Linked DNA regions of Homo sapiens: all the other regions are linked to region 1. Evidence: promoter capture Hi-C in 16 types of primary human blood cells and fetal thymus (Javierre and others, 2016). All regions are on one chromosome and are shown on one strand. The core of a region is centred on a gene start or on the middle of the fragment in contact, and the rest is flanking DNA. Distances in the headings are between cores, read along the strand shown.

Region 1 (2,773 bases), core at 106-2,605:
CAGAAGCCCATAAATTAGAGCTCTGTCCCTCCCACTGCCCTCACCTGATCCTCTGTCAGCAATTATTTTAAGCAAATCCCTCATCAGAGAAAAGGCAGTTGGTGTTAACCCCACATTGCCTGGAATAGAGTGCATATTGATACCAACAAGCCTCGGCTGCTGTCACGTAAATTTCTTCCCAGCTGAACGTTCCATCCAAGCCCATTCCCTTGCTCCAGCCATGTCTCCCCACCACCTTTGACTGGAAGCTTCAGGAAGGTTTGCTGAAGCAAGTATGATTAAGAAGGGAAACATGCCTATAGCAAGTCATAGCACAGATGTTGTGTAATAATAAAGTGTATTAAGCCATTGTTTTGTAACCATCTATTTCTCAGGTTCCTTTAGTCCCAGACACCAACAGGGAGCTAAATGCTCTGTCATTCATGAGTAAGAGGACATTCCTGGATATTGCCTCAAAGGAGGCTGCACTAAGACCCAAAATGGCCGGTTTGGTCCAAGGTCCACACCTTCCTGACCAAAACTACAGCCCCTAGCCCCTCTAATGCAAATGGAGCCCAGACACGTGGGCGGCGGGGCTGGGCGGGGAGAAAAAGAACAGCCGCTGGCACCCAGACCCGGACTGAGCTCACGGCTCGGGAAATGAAGACACCACAGGAAGCCCTGCAGTGTTTTCCCCAGTGCACAAAGTTGGGGTTTTCTGCTTTTAAGTAATTTCTGTTGGAGTTCGCGCTTCTTGATTATGAAATAAGGGCGCTGGATGTGTAAACTTTATAAAACCAACTGCTTGGGAACATCTGATTTCCTTAACCCGACTTAGCAAACAAGGAGGCTCCTGAAACGGTGCTGGGACCCGGGGGGCAAGCCCAGTCCCTGACCCCGCGCGGGGGAGGTGAGCCGCCTACAAGCCCCTCCCGCGCACCTTCCTCCTCCTCCAGGGGAATTCTGGGCGTGCAGGCAACAGCAATGCTGGGACCGGCGCTGCCCGCTGGGAGGGTCTGAGTCCGGGAGGGGGCGGCCCTTGCCCTCCGCTGCCACCTCCCACGGCCCCTCAGTGTCGCCCTGCTGGCCTGTGCCTGGATCACTCTCCCTGCTGTGGCCTGCCTGCCCATCTCCTTCTTGCGTGGGGTCTGTACCTTCCCTTCCTCCCTACCATCCCTCTTTCCCCAAAACTCCGGTCCTTCCTCCCACCTTCCGGGAAAATGCAAATGTCCCACTTCCTCCCGCAAAGGGGACCCTCCCCCCAGCCCGTCGCCACCTTCAGGTTCACAGCAGGCAGCTCCATCCCGACTCAGGCCGAGGGCACCTGCGCCGCAGCCGCGGGGGGCTCCTAGGCTCCGAACTCGGGGAACAAACTTGCCCGGCCCCGCCCCGCCCCGCCCGTTGCGGCCACTCCAACCCCAGCGCAGCTCAAGACCACGTGAAACGGGCTGGAGCGGGTCACGTGACCGCCGCTTGGTTGCTAGGAGACGGCGTCGGCAGCTCGCGCCTTCAGCCAAGCTCCAGACTCCCGCCACCGCCCAGGCAGTACTTGGGGGCCGCTGGCGAAAGTTGGAGTTTCTGTCGCCCAGGGCGTATCCTGCCTGGCTAATATTCCAGGAAGCGGACTGTTCGGACTGCCTGCAGCCAGGACAACTGGGGGACCGTCCAGGCGCAAAGTGCTGATGTGGCAACAGCTTGTGTCTCATCCTTGGGGGCACCCTCTCTCCTTCCCACTTCCCTGTGTAAATGGGCTATTTAGGCTACCTACCTCATATGATCCTTATGAGGATTAAATGAGCTAACTGCTGTTGTTAAAGAAAACGTTATTGGGACTGTTGTTAAACCAGTACTGTTCAAGACTTGCTGTAGGGTTATTGCCATGGAGTGAGAGTTTGGGCTCAACACCGAATACAACAAGGACCAAGGAGGGATTTATAGCCAGAGCAGAATGAGGGAGCAGGAATGGAAGATTCCTAGGAGGAGACATCAAGGATGGGGGAGTTCTTGCTAACTTAGCAGGACTCTTGCTGAAACTGGTTTATTATGCAGGCTCAGGCCCAGCAAGGACAGGAAGACACAGAGGTCCAAGGCCGAGGCCTAGTCAAGATGAGGACTCAGAGGAGTCTAACTACGGTTTGTTCTAGGAGAGAACAGTGCCCGGCACTTAGTAAATGGGCAGGACACACAAGCTATTGTTATTACCAACACAAGATGAGGCTGGGCGCAGTGGCTCACCCCTGTTATCCCAGCACTTTGGGAGGCCAAGGAGGGTGGATCACCTGAACTCAGTAGTTCGAGACCAGCCTGGCCAACATGGTGAAACCCCGTCTCTACTAAAAATACCAAAATTAGCAGGGCATGGTGGTGTGCACCTGCAGTCCCAGCTACTCAGGAGGCTGAGGCACGAGAATTGCTTGAACCGGGGAGGCTGCAGTGAGCCGAGATCACGCCACTACACTCCAGCCTGGACGACAGGGTGAGACCTTGTCTGGGAAAAACAAACAAACAAAAAGCAACACCTGAGGAGCCAAATTGGTGGGAGCCCACTTTAATCAGCATACCAAAAGTTTTAGAAAACTCTAGCTGAAAAACCATAAGAAATTCCTCCCCCAATTGTACATGAGGAAAGAAAGGGCTGTCTCCTGCCTCACCTGGCACCTCCCTTAAAGATTGTTGACCACCACATCCCCCCACCGCAACAAGAACATTAATCCGCTCTACCTCCAGGTCCCTTCCTAACATCAACTTTCCTTTAGAGAACACCAGCTTTTGTTTAGTGTCACCTAGGTATGGA
Region 2 (2,773 bases), core at 81-2,580, 490 kb after region 1:
CACCTCAGCCTCCCAAGTAGGTAGGACCACAGGCATGAGTCTCCACTCCTGGCTAATTTTTTAAATTTATTTTTTGTAGAGATGATTTGGGATCTCACTGTGTTGCCCAGGCTGGTCTTGAACTCCTGGGCTCAAGCAATTCTCCTGCCTTGGCCTCCCAAAGTGCTTGGGATTACAGACATGAGCTGTGGCGCCTTGCCAGGAAATTATGCTCTTGATTTTACCCCGTTTCCTGCCGAAATGCTATCCCCTTAGTTTTTCTTGTTGACCCACTCTAATTTTAGGGTTGTATCTCCTTGGTCACCTGTCTTCAAGCCCCAGCATGCCTCATTGTCATTTGACCACAAGAGCCATGGGAGAAAACATTTCTCAGAGTAAATGCAGTCATAGCATGTGCTATTTTAGAAGTCTAATTCATTGTCTAAATGTGGTTCTGGTAGCTTTCAGTATCCCTAACTTCCTAAGGGATGTGTGGTTTTCCCTTCTCTCCTATTTTATGTGTACTACTGGTGCCTGGACTTGGGACCAACATCAATGGAAGAGAAGAAATAAATAGACAAGAAGCAAGAATCAGGAAATTCCAGCCTTCAGAGGAGAAATAACACTTTAGCTTGGATTGTATGAGAATCGCCTACCCATGCACACTGGCTTATGTGAACCTAATGAAAATATACATGTGGCTTTCCAAATTATAGACTAAATCTTCTTCTATTAAATATAACTGTCATAAAAATCTCTAGGTAATAGCAAAATGATTTCCAGGCCTATGCTGAATGGAATGGCCTGTTTATTGCAAACAGTGCTCAGTATTACAGTCATATATTGCTTAACGATGGGGATACATTCTGAGAAATGCGTCTTAGGAGAATTTGTCCTTGTGTGAACATCATAGAATGTATTTACATAAACCCAGATGGTATAGCCTACTCTACACCTAGCTCTGTGGTGTAGCCTATTGCTCCTGGGCTACAACTTGTACAGCATGTTACTGTAATGAATATTCTAGGCAACTGTAAAACAGTGGTAAATGTTTGTGTATCTAAACATAGACATAGAAAAGATATGTAAAAATATACTGTATTATAATCTTATGGGACCACCATCATATACATGGTCCATTGTTAACCCAAACGTTGTTAAGTGGCACACGACTGTACTGTTTTTTTGTTTGTTTGTTTGTTTTTCTGAGACAGAGTCTTGCTCTGTTGCCCAGGCTGGAGTGCAGTGGCACGATCTTGGCTCACTGCAACCTCTGCCTCCCGGGTTCAAGTGATTCTCCTGCGTCAGCCTTCCGAGTAGCTGGGATTACAGGCGCACTACCATGCCTGGCTAATTTTTTGTATTTCAGTAGAGACGGGGTTTCATCATGTTGTGCAGGCTGGTCTCAAACTCCTGAGCTCAGGCAGTCCACCCGCCTTGGCCTCCCAAAGTGTTGGGATTACAGGCGTGAGCCACCGCGCCCGACCCTGTACTGGTTTTTTATTAGTTTGAGATGGGGTCTTTTTTTTTTTTTTTTTTTTAAATGAGATGTAGTTTTGCTCTTGTTGCCCAGGCTGGAGTGGAATGGCGTGATCTCGGCTCACCGCAACCTCCGCCTCCCGGGTTCAAGCGATTCTCCTGCCTCAGTCTCCTGAGTAGCTAGGATTACAGGCATGCACCCTTATGTCCGGCTAATTTTGTATTTTTAGTAGAGATGGGGTTTCTTTATGTTGGTTAGGCTGGTTTCAAACTCCTGACCTCAGGTGATCCTCCTGCCTTGGTGTCCCAAAGTGCTGGGATTACAGGCATGAGCCACTGCATCTGAGACAGGGTCTTATTCTGTTGCCCAGGCTGGAGTGCATGGCTCTTGGCTCAGTGCGGCCTCAAACTCCTGGACTCAAGTGATGTTCCTCAGCCTCCCAAAGTGCTGGGATTACATGTGTGAGACACTGCACCCGGCCCATGACTGTACTTCAAATTTCATTATAATGTAAAATTGTTTAGATGATCTTCTGTTTTTAAACAAGGTTTGACATATATTTCTTCAGCAAGAGCATGTAATTCTTGTGTGAAAATGTAACAGTAATGGAGACAATTCTGTGATATTGTTTTGGCAACCTTTTACGTTTTTTGGGTTTTTTTTTTTTTTTGAGACAGGCTCTTTGTCACTCAGGCTTGAGTGCAGTGCTGCACACGATCACACCTTTCTGCAGCCTCAACCATCTGGGCTCAAGTGATCCTCCTGCCTCAGCCTCCCGAGTAGCTGGGATTACAGGCATGCACCACCACACCTGGCTAATTTTTATTTTTGTAGAGACAGGGTCTCACTGTGTTGCCCAGGCTGTTTCGAACTCCTGGCCTCAAACACTCCTCTCTCCTTGGCCTCCCAAAGTGTTGGGATTACAGGTGTGAGCCACTGTGCCTGGCCACTTTCTTAATTTATTCTTAAACTGAATTGCTTTATAGGACCTTTGACTGTTGATATGTAGACCCTAACCCTGACCTGGAGCTATCTACTTTGTCTTTTCTGTGCTCAGATACCCAGTATCTCCAAGATACCATGAACCATGTCCTAAGCTGTGTCAAGAAGGAGAAGGAACGTACAGCGGCCTTCCAAGCCCTGGGGCTACTTTCTGTGGCTGTGAGGTCTGAGTTTAAGGTCTATTTGCCTCGCGTGCTGGACATCATCCGAGCGGCCCTGCCCCCAAAGGACTTCGCCCATAAGTAAGCACCTCTGTTATGATTTCACCTTCCACTCCATTTGGTTGGAGAGGAAGGACGCTCTATTTCAGAT
Region 3 (2,773 bases), core at 132-2,631, 470 kb after region 1:
GAGCTGAGATCACGCCACTGCACTCTAGCCTGGGCTACAGAGCGAGACTTGGTCTCAAAAAAAAAAAAAAAGTACAAAAATTAGCTGGCATGGTGGCGCACACCTGTAATCCCAGCCACTCGGGAGGCTGAGGCAGGAGAATCGTTTGAACCCGGGAGGTGGAGGTTGCGGTGAACTGAGATCACACCACTGCACTCCGAGTGAGACTCCATCTCAAAATAAAATAAAATAAATCAGGGAGGAAGGGAGGGAGAGAAATGAAAATAAACAAAGCTTGCAGCACATTCAGCATTCATCATGAGGTCATGTTGAACTCTGAGCCATTTCCTCATAGTTGTTTGCTGCCTACTGTCCCAGAATCATGCGGACCCTGTCATCAGACAACTTAAGCTTGCAAAACATTGTTTTCCACCTGAGGTATTCTTTCAGGTCCTGCATATCAGTGAAACTACTGATGACAGCCATTGTGAAAGACCCCACAGGGAGCTAACTCACCAAAGAATGCAGTTTCTACATCCTGATGATTTCACCCCCTTTACCCCAACCCATAAACGATACCAAATTTCCAGCCTCTCCCCCTCTACAATCCCCTTAAAAACCCCAGCTCAGGCCGGGCACGGTGGCTCACTCCTGTAATCCCAGCACTTTGGGAGGCCGAGGTGGGCAGATCAAGAGGTCAGGAGTTTGAGACCAGCCTGACCAACACGGTGAAACCGTGTCTCTACTAGAAATACAAAAATTAGCCGGGTATGGTGGCACACACCTATAATCCCAGCTACTCAAAAGGCTGAGGCACAAGAATTGCTTGAACCTGGGAGGCAGAGGTGGCAGTGAGCTGAGATCCTGCCACTGCACTCCAGCCTGGGCAACAGAGCGAGACTCTGTCTCAAGAAAAAACAAAACAAACAAACAAACAAACAAACCCAGCTCAGAATTCCTTGGGGAGATGGATTTGAAGGTCTCCTCCTGTTACAGTAGATAGCTAGTCAGGCATGAGCAGAGCAGGAGAGGCCCCCACCCCCTAACCCCAGGAATGTCAAGCAACCATTGGGTGATGGTCAGGCAGTTGTTAAGCTATCTCGCTAAAATAATAATTGATTGCAGCTGGTGCCAGAGAAAGGCAGTCTCCCAAAAGATAGAAACACCTGAAACTGGTGATCAGCAGCTTCCCATAAGATCTCAGGAGCTGGGCGAGTAGGCTCAAGCATGGGCACTAAGAGGCAAAATCGCAGATGATCACTAACAGGCAAAATCGCCGATGATCTTCCTCTAGGAACACTGGACTGGTAAGGGAAACACATCTTGAGTGAGCATGCCCACAACTCCAGTAAACACACTGCACATGCGCCCCTACCCAAGTGCTGACAGGCCACCATGCATGTGGACAGCCCACCCCAAGGGAAGAATCAGGGGAGAAGGGATGCAAGACCCTGGAAGTATGCCAACCCCGAGTCAAGGTCAAACAGCGCACTTGATCTCTCAGGTCAACTGCTTGGTTCTCTTCCAAGTGTCCTTTACTTCCTTTCATTCCTGCTCTAAAGCTCTTTAATAAACTTCGCTCCTGTTCTAAAACTTGCCTCAGTCTCTCACTCTGCCTTATGCCCCTCAGTTGAATTCTTTCTTCTGAGGAGGCAAGAACTGAGCTTGCTGCAGACCATGTAAATTCAGCGCTGGTAACACTCCCATCTCCTCAGTTGGCTGCCCTGCGATCACTAAACTCTTTCTCTGCTGCAGACTCTGCTGTCTCATTGCATTGGTCAACTGTTGCTGTGCAGCAGGCATAGAATCCTGTTGGAACTACAAGAGAAAGATCTACAAGATGCAGTAAAATTTTAAAAATGCAAAATAGTGCGTATAGTATAACAAAAGGGGAAAATAAAAATATATGTATGGGCTGGGCATGGTGGCTCGTGCCTGTAATCCTAGCATTTTGGGAGGCTGAGGCAAGCGGATCAACTGAGGTCAGGAGTTTGAGACCAGCTTGGCCAATGTGGTGAAACCTTGTCTCTACTAAAAATAAAAAAATTAGCCACGCATGATGGCACAGACATGTAATCCCAGCTATTGGGGAAGCTGAGGCAGGAGAATCACTTTAACCTGGGAGGCAGAGGTTGCAGTGAGCCAAGATCATGCCACTGCACTCCAGCCTGGGCGACAGAGTGAGACTCTGTCTCAAAAAAAAAAAAAAAAAAAAAAAGGAATATACATACGTATATATTTGCTTGTTTTTGCAGACAGAAAATCTAGGGATGCATAAGAAACTGAGAAAATACATAGTCAAGGGGCAAGGGTGGAGCAAGACTTTTCATGATAAATGTAACTTGTTTATTTTGAGATTTGAATAGCGACTATATTGCATATTAGAAGCTTTTAATGATAAAAATATAGATGTTGGGCCAGGCACAATGGCTCACGCCTGTAATCCCAGCACTTTGGGAGGCTGAAGCAGGCGGATCACCTGAGGTCAGGAGTTCAAGACCAGCCTGGCCAACATGGCGAAACCCTGTCTCTACTAAAAATACAAAAATTAGCTGGGTGTGGTGGCAGGTGCCTGTAATCCCAGCTACTCAGGAGGCTGAGGCACGAGAATCACTTGAACCCAGGAGGCGGTGGTTGTAGTGAGCCGAGATTGCGCCACTGCACTCCTGCCTGGGTACCAGAACGAGACTCCATCTAAAAAAAAAAAAAAAAAAAAAAATTGAACATCAGTGAAAATGTAAAATTTAGAGGAATACTTATCTCACAGGAGCAATGAAAAGAGGCTAAATCTAAA
Region 4 (2,773 bases), core at 86-2,585, 410 kb after region 1:
CCAATGAACCAGGTAGCTGATGCACCAGGTAACCAGTGAATCAGGTAACTGATGCGTATCCTGTCCCTCCTGGCACTTGTCCCTGCTTCCCAGTGTCCCCTGCTTCTCCCATTCACAGTGCCTGGTCTCCCAGCTCCTACCCACCTGGAAGGATTGACAGATGAGAGTGAAGGAGTCAGGGGCACTGGGTTGAGACATTCCAAACATTATTGATTTCCAACGTCCCCAGCCATCTCCTCCTCTGAGATCCCAGCCAGGAAAGGGACAGTGCCGGGCCCGGGCAGGACAGAACACGGAGGAAACATTGGCCTGCCTCTGGTCCCTCTGACTTCTCATAAGAAGTTAATAAAATTGCAGGCAAGGATGACCCAGAGGACATGATTTACTCACGGTGGGGAAAAGCTTTCAATAAGCTCCCTCCATAAAAGGCCATTAAGGGAGCGGAATTACCACAGGCTAAGGGGCAAGTGTTATGGATTCCAGAGTGGTTTAAGCAGAGGAATTAAAGAGGCATTCAGAGCCGGGAGACATTATTAATAACCACACCAGGCACTTTTAAAGGCCTTCATCGCAGCCAGCTGTGACGGCACTAACTCCTTGGCTCTTGGGCCTCTAGTGGAGATGGGACGGGCAAGCTGAGGATCAGCTCATTCCACTTTTAGGCTGGATCAGTGGATGGGAGGGCTGAGGTCTTAGAGCCGAGGGGTTCCCAGGAGATTCCCGGATCACACACTTTCTGGTGCTGAAAGATCAAACTCCAGGAAGGAAGGGCCTGCCTCCAATCTCACTAGCAGGGCTGAGGAGGCTTGTGCCGTCAAGGAGCATGTGGGGCCGGGCGCGGTGGTTCATGCCTGTAATCCCAGCACTTTGGGAGGCCAAGGCGGGCGGATCACTTGAGTCCGGGAGATCGAGACCAGCCTGGGTAACATGGCAAAACCCCATCTCTACAAAAAAATACAAAAATTCGCCGGGCGTGGTGGTGTATACCTGTAGTCCCAGCTACTTGAGAGGCTAAGGCAGGAGGATCAACTGAGCCCGGGAAGTCGAAGCTGCGAAGATGCAGTGAGCTGTGATTGTGCCACTGCACTCCAGCCTGGGAGACACAGCGAGACCCTGTCTCAAAAAAAAAAAAAAAAAAAAAAAAAAAACCACTTCAGAGCAGAGAGACTCCACCTTTCCCATCCAGAGGGTCCAGGAGAGGGAGAGCTCCCTGAGGAGGAGGAGGCTGCTCTTCCTGGCCTCCTGCTCTCCAGGACCCTAGTGAAGCCTGCACGCAGGCCTGAAGAAGCTGAGTCTCCCCTATTATATGGGCCGCCCTATCCTACCCGGATCACAGGCTCAGTCACGGAGCACCTTTCTCTCCTGGATGAAAAGTCCAAATCCACTTGCTTCCACCCTCTCCTCCCAACCCATTTTCAAAGCTCAGTTCAAGCAATACCCTTTTCACAAAGCCCCCTGAGCTGCACCCTCTCCACTCCCTGTGCTCCATAATGCGGGCAGACAAGGACCCTGCTTCCACAAGGTTCCAGCCCAGCTCTTCCCACTCAGTGCCCGCTTCAGGTCTTCCGAGAGGCCTGTGCTCCTGGAGACAGGTGGGCACAGAGAGGCCCTGGAAGGACCTGGACAAACTCTGTAGGGGGCTGAATTCTGAGCAGGGTCACCTGGCACCTCCATCCTGGCTCCACCCCAGCTCTGTCCTCTGCAAGTTCTCCTTCCCAGAATGTATCTCTCCCTCTGAAATTAGCATTCCTTTTAAATGTTTTCACACTCTCAAATCATTCCTTAAATGTATGTATTAACTGCCAAAATGACTTGCCTTAGCTGCTTCACCCGGCCTCACATTAATCTCACACAACCCTATTACACTTAACATGCCTCGTCCTCTCCGCTCAGCCTCATAAACTCAGGGCGACTTCAGAACCGTCCTTGGTGCCCATGGCTTGCAGCCGCAGAGGGCCGGATGCCACCTGGAGGGCCAGGGGGAGGAACCACTGTCCCACTGGGCCTAACGGCCACAGGTCGGGGGGCTTAGGGCCAGAGACCCCAGGGAAAGCTGCCTGCCTCAGCTGCCCCTTTCTGAGCTACTCGCTGCACCAGCAGCATCACCTTGACCTTAGGAGGGTGACTTTCACCTTTCCTAAGGGAGAAAGCTGAGTATGAGAACTGAAGTCCCTGGCCCAAGCAAAAGCCAGGATGTGAACCCCAGGCACTCTGGGTCCAAAGCCCAAGCCCTTGGCTGCCACACTGCACTCCCCAAGGAGAAGCTTGCAGAAAGGAGGTGATGAGGCCGAGAGCGGTGGCTCACGCCTGTAATCCCAGCACTTTGGGAGGCCCAGGTGGGCAGATCACTTGAGATCAAGAGTTCAAGACCAGCCTGGCCAACATGGTGAAACCCCGTCTCTACTAAAAATACAAAAATTAGCTGGGCGTTCTGTAAGTTCTCCTTCCCAGAATGTATCTCTCCCTCTGAAATTAGCATTCCTTCTAATTTGGTGGTGGCACACGCCTGTAGTCCCAGCTACTTGGGAGGCTGAGGCAGAAGAATCACTTGAACCTGGGAGGTAGAGTTTGCAGTGAGCTGAGATCACCCCCATGCATTCCAGCCTGGGCGACAGAGCGAGACTCTGTCTAAAAAAAAAAAAAAAAGTAGGTGATGGGCAGGAGATGGTCTTGGCCACCTACTGACTGTGTGACCTCAGGCAAGGGCAATTAAGAGATAAAAGCAGGCCTTTATTATTTATAATTCTTCACTATAATCATACATTGAATCCTC
Region 5 (2,773 bases), core at 198-2,697, 390 kb after region 1:
GCTCTCTCTCTCCTCTAGGCCTTTGTTCTTGCTGTTTATGCTATTTCCTTCACTTGAAACACTTTTCCCTTCCCCGCTGTTACCTGGCTGGTGCCCTCGGGGTTGGGGAAGCTGCCAGCTCCCCTAGGGCATCTTCCCCAACCGTTAAGCTGAGTTGGGCCCCTGCCTCTGGGCTTCAGGGACCTGGACCCCCCAGTTCTGGCACTTCTTCCACTGCACTGTAACCATCTTTGTGCTAGTGCTCCCTCCACCTCCCCAACCTGCCCACCACACATTGGATTGTAAACTATGTGACCTTGGCAGGCTTTGGCCCCCGAGGGGTTTGAATCCAAGCTCTGCCTCTTACTAGCTGTGTGAACTTCGGTGAATTACTTAACCTCTCTGTGCCTGGATCTCCTCTTCTGTACAGTCAGAATGACAAAAATAGAACGGACCTCATAGGGCTGTTGTGAGCGTTTAATGTATTCAGCCAGTGAAAGTGCTCGGCCCAGTGCTTCTCAGAGCTCGGGAAGTGGTCAGTCCCTCATCCCTCCTCTGCCATTCCAACATCCCCAAAGCTCTGAGACCAAAAAGCTTTTCAAAACTCATTTGGCAGCAAAACCTAAACTGAACTGACCTTAGAGATACTTAACAGTCTGTATCCCACTATTCACATGTATTTCGCTACAGAAATATGAATATGTTGGAGTCGTCTGTAATATAGGGAACATTACATTAATAAAATCTGAAAACAATTTTGAAATCTGAAATGCACGTGGCCCCAACAGCTTCTTTGCGGAACTGTGGCCGACAGCACTCTCATGATTTTCATGAAGGATAGCATGTTAATATCAACTGCCTGAGAGCCAGGACCGTGCGTGTCTTATTCAGCACTGGGCCTGGCACAGAGCAGTTCTCCATAAACTGGGTGACAGTTGGGACAGTGACTGGAGCTAGCCCTGCTTCCCTGACTTTCTAGGAGGCTGTGCCCTGCCACCCATCTCCTCGGAGCCCCAAGCCCAGGCCCAACCTACTCACTTCCCCCAGGTCACCCCTTGCTGTTGGTGGCAGAAGCGGGGTTGAAACCTTCCCCTCACCTGCCTCCCTGAGGACTACCTGGGTTTGCGCAGGGAGGGGATCACTCATTCCAAATCTCAGCTGAGGAGCAGGAAGCTGCCTGGGGAGCTGCCACCACATCCCTGCTTTCCAGGCCCCAGGACAGGCCCACTCTTCCAGGAAGGCATGAGGCTGCTCTCAGACCTTCCCTGCCCTCTCCCCACAATGGCACATTAGGAGGAGGCTGGACGGGAAGGACTCGCCAGCTGAAATTAAACTAAGCACCAATCTGGCCAGGTGCAGTGGCTTACACCTGTAATCCCAGCACTTTGGGAGGCTGAGGCGGGCGGATTGCTTGAGGCCAGGAGTTCGAGACCAACCTGGCAACATGGTGAAGCCCTGTCTCTACTAAAAAAAAAAAAAAAAAAAACAAGCCAGGCCTGGTGTCAGGCACCTGCAATCCCAGCTACTCAGGAAGCTGAGGCATGAGAATTGCTTGAACCTGGGAGGTGGAGGTTGCAGTGAGCCAAGATCATGCCGCTGCACTCCAGCCTGGGCAACAGAGCAAGACACTGTCTCAAAAAGCAAACAAACTAAGCACCGATCTGTGCTGGGCCCCAGTGTGTATTGATAGGTATAGATATGCACAGGTATGGATTAGCTATATATCTAGACATGGAGGATACAAGCAGCTACAAACACCTTCACCTGCTTAATCGTCACATCAAACACGTGGGTGGGTGCCATTAATGTTCAGTGGGTTCTAATGAATAAACCCACCACCTCCTCCACCAAGTTCAGATCCAATCAAGAGAGAGACACTGAAATCCCATGGATAAAGGTCCAAATGGCAGTTTGAACATCTACCAAAAGCTGAATGGCAGAATGTGACAGGGTGGGGAAGTCTGAGAGCATTACGCCCCTGCTCATGGAAACACGAAGCCCATTTTGTAGATGAGGAAACGGAGGCAAGTCAATGAGGAACAGGAATTTGAACCCAGGTTATCCTGTCTCCAGGTATCAATGTAAATCTGTATCTAGCCTACCCCTAGATCATCTACATGCCTCGGGATCTCCAGGATCCAAGGCACAATGATTCTGATAGCAAAAGAAGCCAAGAGGAGTGGAGCCTGCAGCAGAGCCCTGGGGTCTAGGCAAAGGCTGGTCCATGATTTCCCTCCTGGCTCCTCCCCTCCTGCTCCTCTCCCCACCTCCCCTCTTCTCCCCTGTCCTTATCCTTCCCTGTCAGATCACTATCATTCATTTCCCTCTGGTTACCAAGCTTGGCGAGGCAGCTTTCCTGGTTCCATGTCTGATCTGCATGCCTGAGCCAAGAAAAGGACTTGCTTTCAGGAGCCACTTCCTCCTCCAGCTCATTAAACAGCTGGTCCCCTTGTCTGGGTTCAACAGTCAAAAGCCTAATCCATGTCTGGCAGCTGGAACAAATCCTACCAGGGACTCAAACAGCCCCACCTGTGGGGAGAGTAGGAGACCCAGCCGCTCGCTGGAAAGCCAATTTCGAGACAGCGCTCTCTGAGGCTGCACTAATTTTGTCTCATGTTCCAGAGCTGCAGTCACTTTATAAATCCGGCAGAGAATGCTGCCAAGGGTTCAAGAACAGGGTTCCAAGACCCGAGATTAGGCCAATGCTGTTCCCTATCCCCCAGGAAAGGCCCCCCAGGACAGCTTGCCCCTGCAGCAAAAATGGCCAATGCTTCCTTTTATAAATCAACCCCAT

What was found. Contacts are between HindIII fragments. The CHiCAGO score rates a contact against its expected background, and 5 or more counts as called.
Region 2: a contact is called between a fragment that was not itself captured here and the fragment with the promoter of AGTRAP in region 1, in 10 of 17 cell types (total CD8 T cells, naive CD4 T cells, naive CD8 T cells and 7 more). The highest score is 12.9, in total CD8 T cells.
Region 3: a contact is called between a fragment that was not itself captured here and the fragment with the promoter of AGTRAP in region 1, in 4 of 17 cell types (naive B cells, fetal thymus, total CD8 T cells and 1 more). The highest score is 5.6, in naive B cells.
Region 4: a contact is called between a fragment that was not itself captured here and the fragment with the promoter of AGTRAP in region 1, in 4 of 17 cell types (naive CD4 T cells, non-activated CD4 T cells, naive CD8 T cells and 1 more). The highest score is 5.2, in naive CD4 T cells.
Region 5: a fragment that was not itself captured here is called in contact with the fragment with the promoter of AGTRAP in region 1 in 2 of 17 cell types (naive CD8 T cells and total CD8 T cells); the score reaches 5.3 in naive CD8 T cells.

Annotation. Positions count from the first base shown.
Region 1 is chr1:11,734,718-11,737,490 of GRCh38, reverse strand. It overlaps AGTRAP (angiotensin II receptor associated protein), which reads right to left and starts at 1,355. Exons shown (of 5, transcript NM_020350.5): 1 at 1,256-1,355. The coding sequence starts at 1,282. The HindIII fragment of the contact is 3,809 bases long and covers 251-2,773 here.
Region 2 is chr1:11,243,044-11,245,816 of GRCh38, reverse strand. It overlaps MTOR (mechanistic target of rapamycin kinase), which reads left to right. Exons shown (of 58, transcript NM_004958.4): 9 at 2,517-2,703. Among named protein-coding and RNA genes, the nearest start is that of MTOR, 18 kb to the left of the region's middle. The HindIII fragment of the contact is 3,070 bases long and covers 1-2,773 here.
Region 3 is chr1:11,265,426-11,268,198 of GRCh38, reverse strand. No RefSeq gene overlaps it. Among named protein-coding and RNA genes, the nearest start is that of MTOR, 4.3 kb to the right of the region's middle. The HindIII fragment of the contact is 1,977 bases long and covers 393-2,369 here.
Region 4 is chr1:11,326,351-11,329,123 of GRCh38, reverse strand. No RefSeq gene overlaps it. Among named protein-coding and RNA genes, the nearest start is that of UBIAD1, 55 kb to the right of the region's middle. The HindIII fragment of the contact is 1,862 bases long and covers 405-2,266 here.
Region 5 is chr1:11,342,501-11,345,273 of GRCh38, reverse strand. No RefSeq gene overlaps it. Among named protein-coding and RNA genes, the nearest start is that of UBIAD1, 71 kb to the right of the region's middle. RefSeq lists an enhancer at 1,169-1,669. The HindIII fragment of the contact is 1,744 bases long and covers 576-2,319 here.